Linked DNA regions of Homo sapiens: region 2 is linked to region 1. Evidence: promoter capture Hi-C in 16 types of primary human blood cells and fetal thymus (Javierre and others, 2016). All regions are on one chromosome and are shown on one strand. The core of a region is centred on a gene start or on the middle of the fragment in contact, and the rest is flanking DNA. Distances in the headings are between cores, read along the strand shown.

Region 1 (4,259 bases), core at 997-3,496:
GTGGCACATGCCTGTAATCCCAGCTAGTCGGGAGGCTGAGGCAGGAGAATCGCTTGAATCCAGGGGGCGGAGTTTGCAGTGAGCAGAGATCGCTCCATTGAACTCCAGCCTAGGTAACGAGCGAAACTCTGTTTGAAAAAAAAAAAGAAAAGAAAATTTGACAAGTTTGTAGTGGTTCTACTGCAAGGAAAAACTACAACTTAAAAATGTGTTTACTCCAAATTGTACTATTAATAGGAGATTTCTGAAAGCCTAAGTTTTCATTAAGAACTTTTTCTTTAACGGTGCATCAAGTGAAAGCCTTGAGATGATTCTGGATTAGATATATGGCAAAGTTACCGTGAGCTCAAAAGCCATTGTCCAGATGAAGAAATCCTCAGGGTCAATATGAATGCACATAGGATGACTGATGGAATCCAAGAAAAGCTGCCATAGCTCTGATTTTGCCTTTTTGTGTTGTCTTTAGAGACATGCTCTTGCTCTGTCGCCCAGGCTGGAGTGCAGTGGTGATCATAGCTCACTGCAGCCTTGACCTCCTGGGCTCAAAGCTATCCTCCTGCTTTAGCTTTCTTTTTTTTTTTTTTTTTTAAGATGGCGTCTTGCTCTGTCACCCAGGCTGGAGTACAGTGGTGCTATCTCAGCTTATTGCAACCTCCGCCTCCCAGGTTCAAGCGATTCTCCTGCCTCAGCCTCCCAAGTAGCTGGGATTACAGGCATGTGCCACCACACCTAGCTAATTTTTGTATTTTTAGTAGAGACAGGGTTTCACTATGTTGGCCAGGCTGGTCTCGAACTCCTGACCTCAGGTGATCCACCTGCCTCAGCCTCCCAAAGTACTGGGATTATAGGTATGAGCCACCTCACCTGGCCCCGCCTTAGCCTTCTGAGTAGCTAGGACTACAGGTGTGCACCACCATGCCTGGCTAATTTAAAAAAAAAAAAAAAAAACTTGTAGAGATAGAGTCTTGCTGTATTGCCCAGGCTGGTCTCAAACTCCTGGCCTCAAGCAATCCTCCCACCTGTTTGATTTCATGTGTCTCAAACAGCATAGGAGTCTACTAAAGGCTTTTTTCTTTTTTTTTTTTTTTTTTTTTGAGGCAGATTCTTGCTCTGTCACCCAGGCTGGAGTGCAGTGGCTCAATCTTGGCTCACTGCAACCTCTGCCTCCCAGGTTCAAATGATTTTCCCTGCCTCAGCCTCTCAAATAGCTGTATTACAGGTGTCCGCTACCACGCCCGGCTAATTTTTGTATTTTTAGTAGAGACAGGGTTTCACCTTCTTGGCCAGGCTGGTCTCAAACTCCTGACCTCAAGTGATCCACCCATCTCAGCCTCCCAAAAGTGTTGGGATTACAGGAGTGAGCCACCGCGCCTGGCCCACCAAAAGCTTTAAAGTGAGGTGAATGCAGATTCCATTTTCAGATTCTGCTACAAATTGTGGGACCTTAAACAAGTTACTCATCTTCTCTGTGCTTTAGTGTTATGATCTGGAGCCTGATCTTCATTCTACCACTTACCCTGTACATCTTGGAAATTTTATTTTATTTCCCTGTGACTGTTGCCTTGTCTTGCAGATGGATTATTCTAACATCCACTTCATAATCTTGTTTCATTTAAGGAGATTGATCATACGTGGGAAGCACTTAGAACAGTGCATGGACGAGCACGAGTATTTCATAATGAGCAGCTGTGGCTGTTACTAACACTGGTATTACTAGTACCCGTACTTCCAGGCAGGGTTGTTGAGAAGGTGAAATGAAAGAACGCACACCAGGGCAGGCTACATAATTTGTGGACCCCGGTACAGAATGAAAATGCAGGACACCTTGTTCAAAACTTCCTAAAAACGTCAAGACTGGGACAGCTGAGTATTAAACCAAGCGCAGGACCCGGACCTGCACAGGTTGCACGCTCGCAGACACATTTGCACACAGTGTGTGCTAAATAAATGCTCCGTTCACCCTTGTGAAGTTTCCTATGCCTCACTCGCGCCAGCACCGTTCACAGTGCCCACTGGCTGTATTTATCGCTGACATAAGGATGAGGCCTGGAATTGCATTCACTGCAGAGTCCCACCGGGAGGACCGACCGTTATCCCCGCCGACTCCCCCCAGGTCGCCCTGGCAGTTTCGGCCGCTCAGTTGCAGGCCCTCGCCACGGAGGCCACGCTCGGGGGTTCGGGGTCCACCCCGGCCTCCTGCGGCCGGGCCACCCTACTCGCGCGCAGCCGCGCGCCGCCGCGTCCCCGCGGTGTTTACCCGTTGCCCGAGGAGACACCCGCGCCACCCGCCGGCTCCCGGCGCCGCCGCTTCCTCAGGGCCGGTTCCGGGTCCGAGCGCGCCCCCGGGCTCGGGTCGTCATGAGCCTGGACTGCACCAGCCATATCGCGCTGGGTGCCGCTTCGCCAGCGCCCGAGGTACGGTCCCAGCCGCCGGCCGCGCGCGGGGGTGGCCCTGGGGATAGACGACCCAGGAGGGGCCGAGGCGCCCCTGATTTGCACCCTTTTCCTCCCGGAGGCGTGGGCAGAATCAGAGCAGCTCTGTGCCCGCGAGGGCTGTGGCCTGGGACTGCCAGGGCGCTGATTTCAGGAGGGGATGGGCAGGACCGGAGTTTGCGGAGCGCGTCTGAATTTTAGGTTGTGCCACTCTGCTTCTCTGACCATTTAAACCGGTGACATTCGAAAGACTGTGGCCGGGCAGTTCCTCCCCGCCACCCCTGGGAGCAAAGAATTCCTTCATTTAACTTTCCCTGCTTAGCTACTGAAGTGTGCTTCGGAGCAATTTCTGGAAAATCTGATGTGGCAGGAGGAGGGCCAGCCCGGAGTAGAGTCACCGGCCCTTTCGTTGCGAAGTAATCCAGAAACGTTGGTAATTCAGTTGTTCCTGAATGCATCTACTCATTTACTCCCAGGAGTTACTTAGGTACTGGGGACTTTCAGGTATTAGATGTACCAATGCGCGCGCGCACACACACACGAACATGCGCGCATACACAGACGCTCGTGCACACACGCGAACAGGCACATACGCGAACAAACACGGGCGCGCACACACACGAACACGGGCATATGCATACTTGGGCGCACAAGAAGATCTGGCTGGCTCAGTCTGGGTTAAGAATCCCCCTTTGGCCTTGGCATCGGGGCCCACCGGGTATCGTGTGTATTGGGAGTAGTTGCCAGAGATGGGGGAATTGTGTTCAGCTCAACTGCTAACCGCAAGTAACTCACCCAATTAGTAAATGATGGAGGATTTTTCTTTCTTTCCAAAGTTTTGGACTTTTCCTACCACGCTGTGTACTGACCATAGATATCCCTGGGGGATGTAGTGGATTCAAAACATGAGTTGGATTCTCCAACGTGCCATCGGAATTCTTCTAATATTCAGCAGCTTTGATTGTTGTTTTACATCTGACCTGTATTTAGATTTCTCTGATTCCTGGAATATTTGTGGAAAATAAGTACCACTGTGTGCAAATAAAACTATTTTTTCTTTCTTTCTAACTCAGAGGCCAGTTACTAGATGTTTTTTCTTTCATCTGACATTTTCATATTTGACTTTATTAATTTTTATCCCAATGTGGTGTCTTAACCATACATAAGTATGTGGTATTTTTATATTATTAATATATATTTTTTTTGGTGAGCCCATTGAGAGTAAATTACAGCCATCATGATTCTTTCTTTCTCTCTCCTTTTTTTCTCTTGTTCTCTCCCTCCCTCCTTTTCTTTCTTTCTTCTTTTTTTCAGACAGGGTCTCACCTTGTTACCCAGGCTCGAGTGCAGTGGCACGATCTCGGCTCGCCGCCGCCTTGACACCCCTGGGTTCAAACGATCCTCTCACCTCAGCCTCCAGAGTAGCTGGGACTCCAGGCATGCCATGATGCCTGGATAATTTTTGTGTTCTTTGCAGAGGCAGAGTTTTATCGTGTTGCTCAGGCTGGTCTCAAACTCCTGAGCTCAAGCGATCCACCTGCCTCAGACTCCCAAAGTGCTGGGATTACAGAGATGCACTACCATGCCTGGTCCCCTATGACCTTTCATCTGTAAATACTCTGGTGTGTTATCTCCTATGAATAAGGGCATTCTCTAACGAACATACAATGATCAAAATCGGGATGTTTAGCATTGTGACAATAATATTATCTAATATACACGACCTACTAAAACTTTGCCACTTGTCCCAATTATGCCATTTATTGCCAATTTTTTTTCCATCTCAGGATCACACACTGTATTTAGTTATGTCTCCAGTCTCTTCA
Region 2 (3,781 bases), core at 703-3,202, 110 kb before region 1:
AATTAGAATAGTGAGCTGAGAGGAACTGAAGAAAAGTAGCACAGGAGAGAGGAGGCAGTGCCTATAAATGGGTTTTCATGGAATGCCTTCTTTCTGTATATGTATGTGTACAAAGCTTTTACTTTTCTTAAGTAAATTCAGAGACTATAAGACATACTCATGTTGAAAAAATAAAAAACACTTCCTAGAGCCAAATACAAATGACCTTTCAGATTATTTAATGCTTTGGTTTTCATTGCCACTGTTTCCTCCTTGATAACAGGACATTGACCACCTAGCTGTCACTTGCTTTCAGTTTTCATCACAGAGCACATGTGGGCTGATCCGTAAGCAACTCACTCATCCTTTTAGAAGTGCAGAAGAATGGGGCACATACAATTATGTTGTATTTTGACAACCTAAGTTCCTCCTTCATTTTCAGTGTAAGAATAGGAGATCAAAACAGCTTGTGGAAATTGTTGATTCAGTTTTTAAAGATAATAGCTGTTCTAAGACACTAAACACCACTTACACTACCCATTTCAAGGGCACTAAAAGGGTCCTCTGAAGTCCTTGATTTTATTTAAGTGAAGCATAAATGAATATTGTAATTCAAAGGACAATCAGTAACAGCAGAGGCATTACCCACAAGTAAGATTGATTCTTTCAAGTAGTTTAGACCACTTACTAGGATGAAAAGCTGATTTTTCAATTACTATTATTAATAATTAATATTGGAGGGCCCATGAAGTAAACCTGAAGGCTGGTCATTTGAATTTTAATACATTTTAAAACTGTATTTTGAAGGTAGAAAATGCATCTTATTTAGTTGTGATAATGGAGTGGCATTTTTTTCTTAACATTTCCTTAGTCAACCTTCTTCCATAGTAATTAGAAAAGAGAGAGGCATAAACAGCACTTATTTTCATATTAAAAAGCACTGCATTTGTAAAATACTCCTGTTTTCAATTATATTTTCCCTATGTTTACACTTAAATTAGTTTTTAGTTTCCAAATGTAAGTTGGGGTCATAAGGAGGCAATTCAGGGACATCTTAGGTGTCAAACAGAAGTAGATCAGAGATTTATGGCTAATAACGAGTTCATATTAAAGTAATAATTCTAAAGGCATTATGCTACAATCAACCTGAAGGAAACTTACAGATGATTACACACGGCAAAATTAAAAAATTAATCTGGGCTTGGGACAGTGGCTCACCCCTGTAATCTCAGCACTTTGGGAGGCCAAGGCGGGCAGATCACTTGAGCCCCGGAGACCAGCCTGCGCAACATGACGAGACCCTGTCTCTATAAAAAGAAAATTAGCTGAATGTGGTGGCATGTGCCCATGGTCCCAGCTACCAGAAGGCTGAGGTGGGAGGATTGCTTGAGCCAGGGAGGCTGAGGCTGCTGTGAGCCATGGTCATGCCACTGCACTCTAGCCTGCATGAAAGAGTGAGACCCTGTCTCAAAACAACAACAACAAAAAACTGATCTGCTTCTAATAATCCACCAGAGTGGAGATTGCCTTTGTTTTTTATATACCATAAAATGATTAGTAAAATTAATCTGAAGAAAATATAATCACCTAAATGTGTAGTTCAGGGTATATAACACAGGTGAGTTTCAAATGTGTTTAACTCAAAGTCTTAATAATATGTTTCAATATTTTAGAGCAGAGCTTCTGAAACTTTTTGGTGTTGGGATCCCTTAATGGTCTTAAAAATTATTAAGAACATCAATTATATGTTTATATGGATTTTAACTACTGATAATTACCAAAATGGAGAAATTTTAGAAATATTTAATTCAATTAAAAACAATAAGGCCATTACATGTTAAAGTACAGAACATTTTTATGAAAAAATAATTGTATTTTCTAAAATAACAAAGTGGTGTCTTTTTATATTTTTGCAATTCTCTTTAACAGAAGACAACTGGATTTTGCATTTACTCCTCAATTAACTCTGTTTTGGTTGAGTAGTGAAGAAAATCCAGCCTCACCCACCTATGTAGTTGGAAAAAGGAGATATATTTGAATAGCCTTTTCAGGTAATTGTGGACAGTCCTCTTTTATATTATACCAACACTTGACAAGTCTACTTTCTTAAAAGTTGGTTGTGTAATATAAAACTACATAACTGAATTAACTTTTCCTACTCTATTATAGTAATATTCATTGGTCTATCCACTTTCAACGGATCATTTACCCACTCATGATTTTTAACATCATCTGTTGGTCATTTGGAAAATATCGGCTCACTGAATTAAGCAGATCTTCTCAGTGTCAACACTGAGAAGACATTTTGTCAACACAGCGGAAAAGGCCATAACAACTTAGTATTACTGTGACAACAGTTTTGACTTCATTGAATCCTGAAAGGATCCTGGGGCTTCAAAAGGATCTGCAGACCACACTTAGACAAGCGCCGTTCAGAATCACTTTGGGGACTCAGAGAACCTAAATGACTCTCCCGGTGCAGGAGAACATGCGCACTTCATTCCAGAGGATTCTGACGCTTACCCTGCTTGGTGCAGAACTTAGCGAGTGCCCCCTGTTTAAGAGAACAGTACACTAAAATCTCTAACAAAAGTAAAAAAGTAGTTTCCCTAAGTACTTAGCCAGATACATAAAAGTATTTTTCAAATTCCTATCTTTGAATACTGAACTTTCTTAAAGTGACACTCAAAGGCATGTGATGCATACCTCAAGCATGTGAACTGGGGGTTATGAGTTTGAGCATAAATATGAGCCTCCAAGTTGGCTTCTAAAATGGATCTACATATGTTGGGCTGCCAACTCCTTGTAAGGGTTCTGTGGCTACTGATTCCATATCTTAATGGCTCTATCGGCATTGTAAAAATACTGAATCTTATTTACTATCAATTCGAAGTAATATTTTAATTATTTAATAGTTTAATTTGCTAGCACAAATTATAACCTACTTGAGCATAAAGAACGTTTTAGAAATATTCTTAGTCTAATGCTTAGAATGTTTACATTTTTTTTTTTTCTTCAGGGAAATAAAAATGTTCAGTTCCCTTTTAGGTTTTCAGTCATGTTTGGAGAGCCAAAGAGCATAAGAAAATAGGAAAAGTGATGATAAATGACCTTTCCCAGGTGCATTTGGTATTTTATGGTAAAAAAATTACCAGCAAACCAGTTCTTTCAATCTTCCTCTCCTGTGCAGGCTGGTGCCACGGGACTTGCCCAGCTTTTCCAAGTTCCTACAGGGAAAGGTGAGTGGGGCTAGGAATGAAGCACCAAGAAACAGTAAGAGCTGGAAGGGCAGTTCCCACCTCTAAAGCTGCTGATCCCAGGCCGATGCTACAGATGAGCTTTAGATATTTCCTTCTCTATTTTGTAAGTCTCAAATTGGGGAAAGCACATCCACTTACTCATGGGCATGCTGTGGGTACTTGAAATCACAGGATTGCAAAGTATATCTATGGGGTTGGGGTGAATACATTTTCTTTTCTTTTTTAATAGAGATGTGGGATCTATGTTACCCAGGTTGGTTTTGAACTCTTGGCTTCAAGCAATCCTCCAGCCTTGGCCTCCCAAAGTGCTGGGATTATAGGCGTGAGCCACTTTCCCTGGCCATGAACACATTTTTCTATTATTTTATATTATCTTATAAAAGTGCAGATTTTGGAGGTTACTGAAAAGTTGATATTAAAGTTTAAGATATAAAAGCAGGTGTCACCGTGGCAGCTTTTATTCTATAACTTAAAACATGATTAGCGTTTATTCTCTGCTGCTAGTGGTAGAGATTGCTCAGCATCAACGTATTTACATCCCC

The links. The method cuts DNA at HindIII sites, captures the fragments that hold promoters and counts their contacts. A CHiCAGO score of 5 or more calls a contact.
Region 2: a contact is called between a fragment that was not itself captured here and the fragment with the promoter of CCDC170 in region 1, in 1 of 17 cell types (neutrophils). The highest score is 5.5, in neutrophils.

The regions. Positions count from the first base shown.
Region 1 is chr6:151,491,771-151,496,029 of GRCh38, forward strand. CCDC170 (coiled-coil domain containing 170) reads left to right here and starts at 2,247. Exons shown (of 11, transcript NM_025059.4): 1 at 2,247-2,415. The coding sequence starts at 2,359. The HindIII fragment of the contact is 3,463 bases long and covers 1,385-4,259 here.
Region 2 is chr6:151,385,086-151,388,866 of GRCh38, forward strand. All of the region lies in intron 1 of ZBTB2 (zinc finger and BTB domain containing 2), which reads right to left. It overlaps LOC124901232 (translation initiation factor IF-2-like), which reads left to right and starts at 3,235. Exons shown (of 3, transcript XM_047419613.1): 1 at 3,235-3,252. The coding sequence starts at 3,235. RefSeq lists an enhancer at 377-536. The HindIII fragment of the contact is 3,678 bases long and covers 114-3,781 here.